4 separate regions of the Homo sapiens genome follow, and regions 1, 2 and 4 are each linked to region 3. The links are contacts of gene promoters, found by promoter capture Hi-C in human tissues and cell types (Jung and others, 2019). All regions are on one chromosome and are shown on one strand. The core of a region is centred on a gene start or on the middle of the fragment in contact, and the rest is flanking DNA. Distances in the headings are between cores, read along the strand shown.

Region 1 (2,700 bases), core at 52-2,551, 240 kb before region 3:
CATCTCAAAAATAAAATCAATAAAATAAAGTAAAATGAGGGAGAATTACAGCCCCCATCATAGTGTGTTGGGGTAAGAATTAAGTGAGTTCCCATATATGGGACAAACTTCCCCCCCTTATGACCTGTAAACCCAGTTTCTGGCGGCCAAGGATGGGGAGACAGGAGGCAACTGCTTGAGCGGAGTTGGGGCTCCGCGGTGGCGGTCAGCAGCATAGGCCCAGGTCCCATGTGACCCAAGGCTGTCTCTGAACCTCCATTTCTGTCTCCATAGAGTGGGGACAGCCCCCCATTTCCCCATGACACACATGAGATACTAAAGAGGTGCCCTACAAAGTCCCATCACCACTAGATGATTTTTTTTTTTTTTTTTTTGAGATGGAGTCTGGCCCTGTCATCCAGGCTAGAGTGTAGTGACACGATCTCGGCTCACTGCCAGCTCCGCCTCCCGGGTTCATGCCATTCTCCTGCCTCAGCCTCCCGAGTAGCTGGGACTACAGGCGCCCGCCACCACGCCAGGCTAATTTTTTGTATTTTTAGTAGAGACGGGGTTTCACCGTGTTAGCCAGGATGGTCTCGATCTCCTGACCTCGTGATCCGCCCACCTCAGCCTCCTTAAGTGCTGGGATTACAGGTGTGAGCCACCGCGCCCAGCCGACATTTTTTTTTGAGACAGTGTCATTCTGTCGCCCTGGCTGGAGTGCAGTGGCACCATCACAGATCACTGCAGCCTCAAGCTCCTGGCCTCAAGTGATCCTCCTGCCTCAGTCTCCAGAGTAGTTGGGACCACAGGCACATGCCGCCGCACCCAACTAATTTTTGTATTTTTCATAGAGACGGGGGTCTTGCTATATTTCTCAGGCTGGTCTCAAACTCTTGGCCTCAAGTGATCCTCATGTCTTAGCCTCCCAAAGTGCTGGCATTATGGGTGTGAGCCACCGCCACCGGCTTCTGGATGATTTTGCTGGGCTTAGACAAATGAGTTGAACTTTTCTAGGTTGGTGTGGGGTGCGGTGGCTCATGCCTATAATCCCAGCACTTTTCGAGGCCAAGGCGAGGTCAGATCACCTGTGGTCAGGACCTCAAGACCAGCCTGACCAACATGGTGGAACCCTGTTTCTACTAAAAAATACAAAAATTAGGCCGGGCACGGTGGCTCATGCCTGTAATCCCAACACTTTGGGAGGCCAAGGCAGGAGGATCACGAGGTCAGGAGTTCGAGACCAGCCTGGCCAATATGGTGAAACCCTGTCTCTACTAAAAATACAAAAATTAGCCGGGCATGGTCGTGGGTGCCTGTAATCCCAGCTACTTGGGAGGCTGAGGCAAGAAGAATCACTTGAACCCAGGAGGTGGAGGTTGCAGTGAGCCCAGATCGCACCACTGCACCCCAGCCTGGGCGACAGAGCGAGACTCCGTCTCAAAAAAAAAAAAAAAGAAAGAAAGAAAGAAAAAAAGAAAAGAAAAGCTTTTCTAGGTTGGAAAAGGGAATGGAGGGAATTTCAAGGGGTGGGACCCTCAGGGGCAGAGACCCAGAGGTGGGAAAGAACAGAGAATTTGCTGTGAATGGTTTTTGAGAAGGGATGACTTGAAAGCTGAGGCCTGAGGGGAACAGGGAGGGCCAAGCAGGAAGGGGCCGCGGCCATGGCTGTGTTTGGGCAGCAGAGTCCGTGCCAGGAGGTGGGGAGGCTATCGGAAGGCTGTTGGTGAGAAAGGAGAAAATATGCAAAGCAGATGTCAACATGGCTCAAAAGCAGAAATGGTCTGAGGCAGGGTGTTGAAGACACTGGACTCGCAAAAGCAGCTTGTGCTCTGATGTTCATCTTGGCCTCCCTGTCCCCGAGGCTTCCGGATCAGCCTCCTTTATGTACTGGCCTCCAGAAACACTGTGTTTAGAATTGACTGTGTCATTTCCACCCTGCATCTTACAGTTACAGACATGGAGGCTCTGGGAGGCAGGGAAATGACTTGTCCAAGGTCACATAGCCAGTCAAAAAAGGCAGGACACAAACCCTGCGTCCCAGACCTGTTCGTCCCCCTACAACCACTTAGGGGTTGGTGGGCAATTCGTACTAGAGTATAATTGACTGATAGATGCTGTTAACACAAAGTAGCCCTTTTGCCTTTTTTTTTTTCCCGCTCTGTCGCCCAGGCTAGAGTGCAATGGCATGATCTCGGCTCACTGCAACCTTCACCTCCCGGGTTCAAGTGATTCTCCTGCCTCCTGCCTCAGCCTCCCGAGTAGCTGGGATTACAGGCGCCCACCATCACACCCGGCTAATTTTAGTAGAGACGGGGTTTTGCCATGTTGGCCAGGCTGGTCTTGAACTCCTGACCTCAGGTGATCTGCCCACCTTGGCCTCTCAAAGTGCTGGGATTATAGGCGTGAGCCACCGCACCTGGCCCAGTGGCCCTTTTTACAAGAGGAGCTGGGTTGGAATTAGAATGTTCAGGAGGCAGGAAAATTCTCTGGAGGTCTTGCTGACCATAACAAATATTCCTAAGTAGCTACCTGCTCCTTGACCAATTCTATAGATGCAGAAACTGAGGCTCAGAGACTTGCTTTTATATATGAGGGCCACAAAGTCAGTTGCTTCAGTGGTGAAAACATTTCCCATCGGAAGGAGCACAGAGTGTGGGTGCAGCCACTTGTGTGCATGTGACTGACGTGGCCAGAGCTTCCGATTTTTCAAGAGGAAAC
Region 2 (2,700 bases), core at 106-2,605, 190 kb before region 3:
TTGGGCAACAAGAGCAAAACTCCGTCTCAAAAAAAAAAAAATACGGTCCATCTGGGCCAGTGATCCCACAGGATATGAATGCTATGCAGAGATGCTGTAGCCTGGGATAGCAGGTAGGGGCTGTGGCTCAGGAGGGGACCTCCTAACTCTATCCTTCTGTACAGCCAAAGTTTGAGTCTCAGCTCAGCCCCTTACAAACTGGATGACCTCTGTGAGCCTCAGTTTCCCTTTCTGCAAAATGGAGACAGTAAAGATGTAATCAGCTCATGCAAAAAGTGCTGGAATAAATAACCAGATAAAGGAAGGCTGGAAGGGATGGGGGCAGTGACCCTCCTCCCAATTATACACACCTGTTAAGCAGGTGCCTTGTTTCTTCCTTCTTCCCTGAATCTCCTGGATCAGCCTCAATCTCCCTTCAACAGCCACAAAACACCTGTGTGCACCTTTGCTGGATTTCCCACTCTGACCCCTCCAGACAGCAGGTCAAAATGACCCCCCCACTCCTTGACTCTGAGGCCCCAGCGGAAGTTGGCGCCCCACGTGGCCCCGAGGCGGAGTCTCAGGGAGGAGAAACAGTTGGTTTGGGGGTGGGGGGGAGTCGGTGACAGCAGGGGCCCTGACTCACCAACAAACAGCCCTGGCACAAAACACAAAAAGGTTTCCGCTGAAGACAGTCCCTGGGACAGCTGGGAGAGCCCGAGGTCCCCGGACCCCCACCTGCCCCTGCCTTGGGAGAGTAGCCCCCCAGGAGCGCAGGGCGCGGCGAGCAGTGACTGGGAGGTTCATTTGTCACTGGGACACTTCCTGCCCGCAAATCGGCCTTTGTCCCCTGGGGCCAGGGGTTGGGGGAGCGGTGTGGGGACAGGCTGGACCTCGGAAGGGGCAGGGAGGAAGGGTCCAGTCCAGCCCGCAGGCCAGACAGAGGAGGCAGGTGCCAGGAGGGTCACCATCCCCACCTTGGGAGGAAAGGACGCCAGGGGGGCCTGCGCAGCGCCGGGCTTTTGCCCGGCCCCCCAAGCCCCGCGCCCGACTGCCCTGACTCCCGACCCTGGGACCCCCAAGGCTCCTCCTCCTCCACTTTCCAGGAAGCCTGGGCTGCGCGGGGCTCCCGCGGGTGATGACACCTTCCAAATCTGAGAGGACTTCCAGCACCTGCCCCTCTCGGCCCCGCAGTCCCGGAGCCGCCCCCGCCTCTGCCCCCGGCCGCTGCCGCTACAGCCCCCATCAGCCAGCGTACCCGTCACTACCACCGCCTTCCTCGGCTGCTCCATGGCGGGATCGGGCTGTGCCTCGGACCTGCTTCTGTTGCGACTGGCGCGACAGCTGCTGCCGCTGCAGCCTCTCGGCCGCGCGAGGCCACGCCCCTGTCAAGCCCCCGGCCTCGCCCCCGGTCAGCCGCTCGGCGTGCGCGCCCCCGGGCCCGAGACGCAGCGTGCGCGCCCTGCGCCCCGCCCCCGTCGGCTAGGCCCGGTATTCCCCAGCCTCCGTTTCCCCGTCTGCAAAATGGGAACATCTTATGCCGTAGTGTGTAGCCGCTTGCACGCACTGAGCCAGGTGCTGGGGATGAGCCGGTCCTTTATTCTGCAAGGGTTCATTGAGGGCCTGCCCTATGCATGCATACTGCGCAGAATTAGGGAGGGAAGTCCCCGCGAGCAAGGCCCGTTTTCCAGATAAGGAAACTGAGGCACAGAATGCCACTTCCCCGAGGTCACTCGCCTCAAGGGGTCACAGGAGCAGCATTCAGGCCAGGAAGTTGGCGGGGGTGGGGGAGGACAGAGTAAAAAAGGAAAAACACGACAACCATATTTGTGTGGTGCCAGAAGTTTCTCTGCAGGCCCCCATGGTCCTAGGAGGCTAATGGGGGAGGGCGATTGTACCTGCTGTTCCCTCTGCCGGAACACACCCCGCAGGTACCTGCGAAGCTGGCCTCCTTCAGGCCTCAGCTCCAGTGTTCCAATGTCGCCTCCTCCCAGGGGCCCTCCTCCTGTCCTGGCTGTCACCTCCTCCGAGGGGTGAACTGTCACTTTCTCCTTGTGGCCTTCTCTGGCTATCACCTCCCTGCTATCCTATTACCTCCTCTGAGGGTTCCTTCTGGCCCTCCTTGGCTGAAATGACCTCACTGCTACCCCCCAGTGGTTCCATCTCATTCCCTGGTTCCATCCTCTTCATAGCAATAAAGCTCAGAAATAATTTCCTTTCTCTCTCTTTTTTTTGGAGACAGGGTCTCACTCTGTTACCCAGGCTGGAGTGCAGTGGCAAAATCATAGCTCTGTAACTTTGACCTCCAGGGCTCAACTGATCCTCACATCTCAGCCTCCTGAGTAGCTGGGACTACAGGTGTGTGGCACCACACCCAGCTAATTTTTGTATTTTTGTAGAGATGGGGGTTTCATAGTGTTGCACAGGCTGGTCTCGAACTCCCGAGCTCAAGCAATCCGCACACCTTGGCCTCCCAAAAGTGCTGGGATTACAGGTGTAAACCAGCACACCTGGCCAGAAATCATTTTTAATTTTTTTTAGCTTTTAAGTTTTGGGGTACATGTGCAGGTTTGTTATATAGATAAACTCGTGTCATGGGGTTTGTTGTACAGATTATTTAGTCCCCCAGGTATTATTAAGCAGAAATTATATATGTATTTATTTATTTGAGACGTAGTTTCACTCTTGTCACCCAGGCTGGAGTGCAGTGGTGTGATCTTG
Region 3 (2,700 bases), core at 131-2,630:
GGAACAAAGTCCAGGAAGAGGCCTCTACACAAGCAAAGGCCTCGAGGTGAGTCCAAGCAAATGGACCTCCAGTCTCTGCAGAGGAGGAGTGAGTGGGCTGGCAGGTAGCTCCAGCCTGGGGCCCAGAGTAGGCACAAAATGCAGATGGGGAGGTGCTTAGAAGGAACCTTAGCCCCAGGCAGGGACAGGGAGCCAGGAGAAGGTGGGGGTACTGCAGCTGAGGAGGAGGGGAGGCTGCCGGCAGCAGGGCATTGATTATTCCCCAGGAGTCCCAGCCTGGGGAGGCGGAGATAGGCACACATTCCCAGCCTAGCCCTGCGGGTTCAGACGCCCTGTGATGGACAGGGCTAGGGTCGGGGGATGGACGTGCTGTTCTAGAGAATGGATCATCACAGCGGATAGGAAGGCGCGACAGGCAGACGGAACGGCACATGCAAAGCCTTGGCAGTGGGTTAAGTTGCTTGTCAAGGATTCAGGGTGGCTATAAGGATAGGTGCTATCCACCAAGAGGCCCGAGTGTCAGGTGGAGGCTCTGAGCATCCTTCAGTCACGGGGAACCCCAAGAGGTGTCCGAGCAGGGCGGAGGGGCGCCACATTCTCGGGTGCCCAATTTACCCATTCCTAGGCCTCTGTTACCCTCATTCTACAGGTGGGGAAACTGAGGCCCCGAGAGGGGATGCCCAGAAAACCGCCTGGATCTGCCTGCCAGCCCGCCCCCACGCCCCGGTGTGCGCGCCCCGGGAGCAGCGCTCCCCGAATCCGGGAGGCGGGAGGGGCGGGGCAGGCAGGGCTGGGGGCTCCGCGGGTGAAGGCAGGGCCTGAGCGCTCACACAGACGCGCACTTGGGTCTGCGTGGACCCGGCCACCCGGCTAGGGGACCGGAAGTGGGTTCGACCCCCGGCCCTCCCGCACCCCATTCTGCCCCGCACAATGCCTGGGCGCCCCTCGGTACTATTCGAAGCCCCATTCCAGGCAGGGCCTCCCTTCATTTGGGGCCTCGGCTCCAGTCCGGTATCTTGGACGCGGGGAGTCTCTCCCCATTCTGCCCCGACCGTCCCAAGGAGGCTGCACCGCTGCGGAGCCGAGCCCGAGGCCCCCCCTTGCCTGCGGCCCCCCCAGTTCCCGCGGGGCCCGACGCAGCCTGGCGCTTGCGTTCTGGCTTCCACCGGGGCCCGGCACTGCCCCCGGGCGCCCCGCATTTAAGCACACTCCCAGCCGCCCCCGCCACGAGGGCCAGTCAGGACTCACCTGGTCGCGGCCGCCACCGCCGCCGCAGCCGCCGTCACACCAAGCCAAGCCCGCCCCGTGGCTCCACCGCGGCCACCGTCGCCGCAGCCGCGGGATCCCCGCCTCCGCCGCCGCCACGGTTCCGAGCGGCCTGGCCCGCCCCCGGCGGAAATGCCCGAGCGCATTCGAGCCGGGCGGATGAACCGAGGCCGAGGCGGAGCCTGAGGTAAGGGGGCACCCGAGTGTTTCCGGAAGTAGCCGAACGTAATCCCGCGGGACTGGTGGACTAGAGGGTGCCCCCGAGACAGCCGAGCGTTTCCAGAGGTAGCCGAGTGCAATCGGGTCGGCGAGGGATCCGAGACTGGGCTCGGCTGGGCTTAGAGACGCCCGAGCGCTTTCGGAAATGGCCGAACACTCTCTACGGCCGCACTGGCACAACTGAGGCTGATCCCCAAGACCGCGGAGCGTTTCTGGAAATAACCGAATGTGCTCAGTGCCCAATGGAGGCCTTGGGAGTTTAGACCCAGAGGCGACCGCCAGCTTATGGGAATTACTGAAGCATAGATGGTTCCAGGGGACAAATGAGGCGTTCTCAAGCTCAGCAAACAGGGGGCAGTAGAGTGGGGAAAGGGCCTGCCGCAAAAAGCAGAAGTCGGAGAAAGCCAGGGTTGAAGGAGTTTCCATGGCAACCCAGAGCGTCCGGAAACAGCCAACGATCTCGACCCCTACGGGCACTAGAATTTAGCGGACTTGAGCCTAGATGCCGACGGTTTCCGGAAATAGCCGAACGCACTCGGAGATGGGGCTGTAGCCAAGAGTGTTTGCATGCCGGCTGAGCGCCCCGGAAGTAACGGATTGCTCTAGGGCTGGGCCGGGTTCGGCTAGAGGGAGTTTTATGGCAGAGCGCAAGCTAAGACCAGGATAGAAAGGACGCGACGATTGCTTATTTTGTTATTATTTTTTGAGACGGAGTTTCGCTCTTGTTGCCCAGGCTGGAGTGCAATGGCGCTATCTCGGCTCGCCGCAACCTCCACCTCCCGAGTTCAAGCGATTCTCCTGCCTCAGCCTCCCGAGCAGCTGGGATTACAGGCATGCGCCACCACGCCCGGCTAATTTTGTATTTTTAGTAGAGACGGGGTTTCTCCATGTTGGTCAGGGTGGTTTGGAACTCCCGACCTCAGGAGATCCGCCCGCCTTGGCCTTCCAAAGTGCTGGGATTACAGGCGTGAGCCACCGCGCCCCGCCGCTTATTTATTTTATTAACATAGCCCAGGGCGCCCAGGAGGTCGAGGCTGCAATGTGCCGTGATTGCGCCACTGTACTCCAACCTGGGTTACAGAGCGAGACCTTGTCTCAAAAACATAAAAATAAAAAACATAGCTCAGGGCCCAGATGTCTGGAGGAAGCTTTTAAAGGCAGGGCTATGATGGAGTACTCGCAGGGAGAGGGTAGCAGGAGGCTGGTACCAGCGAT
Region 4 (2,700 bases), core at 163-2,662, 240 kb after region 3:
AGCCCAGGAGTTCAAGACCAGCCTGGGCAACTTAGTGAGTTGCTGTCTCTACAAAAGATAAAAAATTAGCTGGGCATGGTGGTGTGTGCCTATAGTCCCAGCTACTCGGGAGGCTGAGGTGGGAGGATTGATTGAGCCTGAGAGTTTGAGGCTGCAGTGAATCAACATCTCCCCACTGCACTCCACCCTGGGCAACACAGCAAGATTCTTTTTCTAAAGAAAAGTTTAAAAATAAAAATAAATAGTCTGGGCAGGGTGGCTCATGCCTGTAATCCCAGCACTTTGGGAGGTGGAAGTGGGCAGATCACTTGAGGCCAGGAGTTTGAGACCAGGGTGGCCAACATAACAAAACCTCATCTCTACTAAAAATACAAACATTAGCCAGGCCTGTGGCGCACACCTGTAGTCCCAGCTACTCGGTAGGCTGAGGCAGGAGAATCGCTTGAACCCAGGAGGCGGAGGCTGCAGTGAGCTGAGATCGCACCACTGCGCTCCAGCCTGACAACAGAACGAGACTCCGTCTCAAAATAATAATAAATAAATAAATAAATAAATATTTGGTCTTTTGACCCCAGTTCCTGACAGAGTGATGGGAGTGTCTGACATAGAGCTCCTAAATCCCCTAGAGTTTCCTGGGTGATAGGAGCGTCTTTGGTTCTAAAAAGATGACTCTTGGTGGGTTCCTGGGTGGGGACCAACAAGACCAAGCCATCATTAGAAGCTTGGAGCTTTCAGCCCCACCCTCTTTCTCTGGAGACCGGAGAGGGGCTAGGGACTGAGTTAATAATCAATCATGCCTTCATAATGAAGCCCCCATAAAAATCCCCAAAAGATGGGGTTTGAAGAGCTTCCGAGTTGATGAACACATCTGCAGGTTGCAAGGGTGGGGTATCCCACTCTATAGAGACCATTGTGTCTCAAGGCGGGCTGTTTTGTGGGATTGAGCCCTTAACCTGCGGGATCTGATGCTGTGTCCGAGTAGATAGCATCGGAACCAAATTGCATCAGAGGAATCCCAGCTGGTGTCCACTGGAGAATTGCTTACTATGTGGAAAAAATAAAGACAACCCACACATCTGGTGTCAGAAGTGTGGTGTTGAGTGGGATGTGTGTTTTGTTTGTTCCTCTTACATTGTGTTTTGAAATAAAACCAATACTCAGCCGCAAAGCAACCGCATTGGTCACCCTTCTGCAACGATTGTGTTAATGTTTTTCTTGATTTCGTCAAACATGAGAGCCGCAGGGGTCTGCAGATTTTCATAACAAGGCCTCCAGGACAAATTGGCTCTTGAAATTATTTTGTGATTAAAAAGAAAAAAGAAAAGCCAAATTTAAAAAAATAAATTAAAAGAAGATTTAATAAGATTTATATGTATTCAAAAGAAGATTTAGTAAGATTTGTATGTATTCACCAGGAAACATGTTTTATGATTTGTTTTGGAAGGGCAAAAGCAATTTCCACAGTAATGTGAATTTTGTAATCTAATATTCTTTTTTTTTCTTTTTTTAGATTTTTGAGGCAGGGTCTCACTCCCATCACCCAGGCTGAAGTGCAGTAGCATGATCACAACTCACTGCAGCCTCAACTTCCCAGGCTCGGGCGATCCTCCCACCTCAGCCTCCTGTGTAGCTGGGACCACAGGCATGCATCACCATACCAGGCTAATATTTGTATTTTTTGTAGAGATGCAGTTTCACCATGTTGCCCAGGCTGGTCTCAAACTCCTGGGCTCAGATGATCGCCCCACCTCCCAAAGTGGTGGGATTACAGGCGTGAGGCACTGCACCTGGCTCATTTTTCTAAGAAAAAAAAAAATCTTTCTGTCTAGATTTTTTTTTTTCATGTTTGAGGGCTCTGCATTGCTGGGGCAACTGTGGATTTGACCAGCTCCTTGAACAATCCATTGCCAGGTCAGGACTTGGAGAAAGCAACGTGGATGACCCAGAGAGGGGCAGCGACTGGCTGCAGGCCACACAGCAATTTCATCAAGATTCCATCCTTAGGCCAGGAGTGGTGGCTCACGCCTATAATCCCAGCATTTTGGAAGGCCTAGGTGGGCAGATCACTTGAGGTCAGGAGTTCAAGACCAGACTGGCCAACATGGCGAAACCTTGTCTCTACTAAAAATATGAAAATTAGCTGGGTGTGGTGGCGGGTGCCTGTAATCCCAGCTACTCGGGAGGCTGAGGCAGGAGAATCGCTTGAACCCGGGAGACGGAGGTTGCAGTGAGCCAAGAATATGCTACTGCACTCCAGCCTGGGTGACAGAGCAAGAGTCTGTCTCAAAAAAAAAAAAAAAAAAAGATTCCATCTTGGTGGGGTAGGTGGCATGAGGTGAGCTACCTCCTGAGAGCCACCAGTTTTGGGATGATCCTCAATCCCAGCCCGTCTCAGACCTGGCTCTGGGGAGAATAGGATGTAGGGGAGACCTTCCATCCTTGCCGTGCTGTGCCCCAGGTGGGCCTGGAGCCAGCTGCACCTGAAGCTGACACAGCCCTGGGCCTCGGTAGGAGGCAAGTGGAGTCATTCCAGTGGAAACTTACCTGCTTCCTGCCTGGTCTTGTCTTCTGCTCCACCTGGCTTCTTGACAACTCTCCCGCTGTACCAGAAAGAATAGGAATTCAGGGCCTCAGTATTGGCTTAAGCTACAGATACCAAGATCAGCAGGGGAGACAGAGACAAGCCTGTGGACCTGAAGG

Evidence for each region. The method cuts DNA at HindIII sites, captures the fragments that hold promoters and counts their contacts. A contact is called where the count stands out against the background at its distance.
Region 1: a fragment that was not itself captured here is called in contact with the fragment with the promoter of PIK3R2 in region 3 in 1 of the 25 tissues and cell types used here (spleen).
Region 2: a contact is called between the fragment with the promoter of PGPEP1 here and the fragment with the promoter of PIK3R2 in region 3, in 3 of the 25 tissues and cell types used here (IMR-90 fibroblasts, dorsolateral prefrontal cortex and lymphoblastoid cells).
Region 4: a fragment that was not itself captured here is called in contact with the fragment with the promoter of PIK3R2 in region 3 in 1 of the 25 tissues and cell types used here (H1 embryonic stem cells).

What each region holds. Positions count from the first base shown.
Region 1 is chr19:18,393,045-18,395,744 of GRCh38, reverse strand. The region is part of intron 1 of LRRC25 (leucine rich repeat containing 25); the gene reads left to right. Among named protein-coding and RNA genes, the nearest start is that of LRRC25, 3.2 kb to the left of the region's middle. The HindIII fragment of the contact is 2,096 bases long and covers 254-2,349 here.
Region 2 is chr19:18,339,253-18,341,952 of GRCh38, reverse strand. PGPEP1 (pyroglutamyl-peptidase I) reads right to left here and starts at 1,355. Exons shown (of 5, transcript NM_017712.4): 1 at 1,238-1,355. The coding sequence starts at 1,271. RefSeq lists an enhancer at 798-1,485 and a silencer at 1,317-1,506. The HindIII fragment of the contact is 61,917 bases long and covers 1-2,700 here.
Region 3 is chr19:18,151,843-18,154,542 of GRCh38, reverse strand. PIK3R2 (phosphoinositide-3-kinase regulatory subunit 2) reads right to left here and starts at 1,380. Exons shown (of 16, transcript NM_005027.4): 1 at 1,249-1,380. RefSeq lists silencers at 510-729, 1,040-1,419 and enhancers at 1,530-1,809, 1,115-2,007, 2,550-2,629. The HindIII fragment of the contact is 11,749 bases long and covers 1-2,700 here.
Region 4 is chr19:17,909,418-17,912,117 of GRCh38, reverse strand. No RefSeq gene overlaps it. Among named protein-coding and RNA genes, the nearest start is that of CCDC124, 22 kb to the left of the region's middle. The HindIII fragment of the contact is 5,842 bases long and covers 1-2,700 here.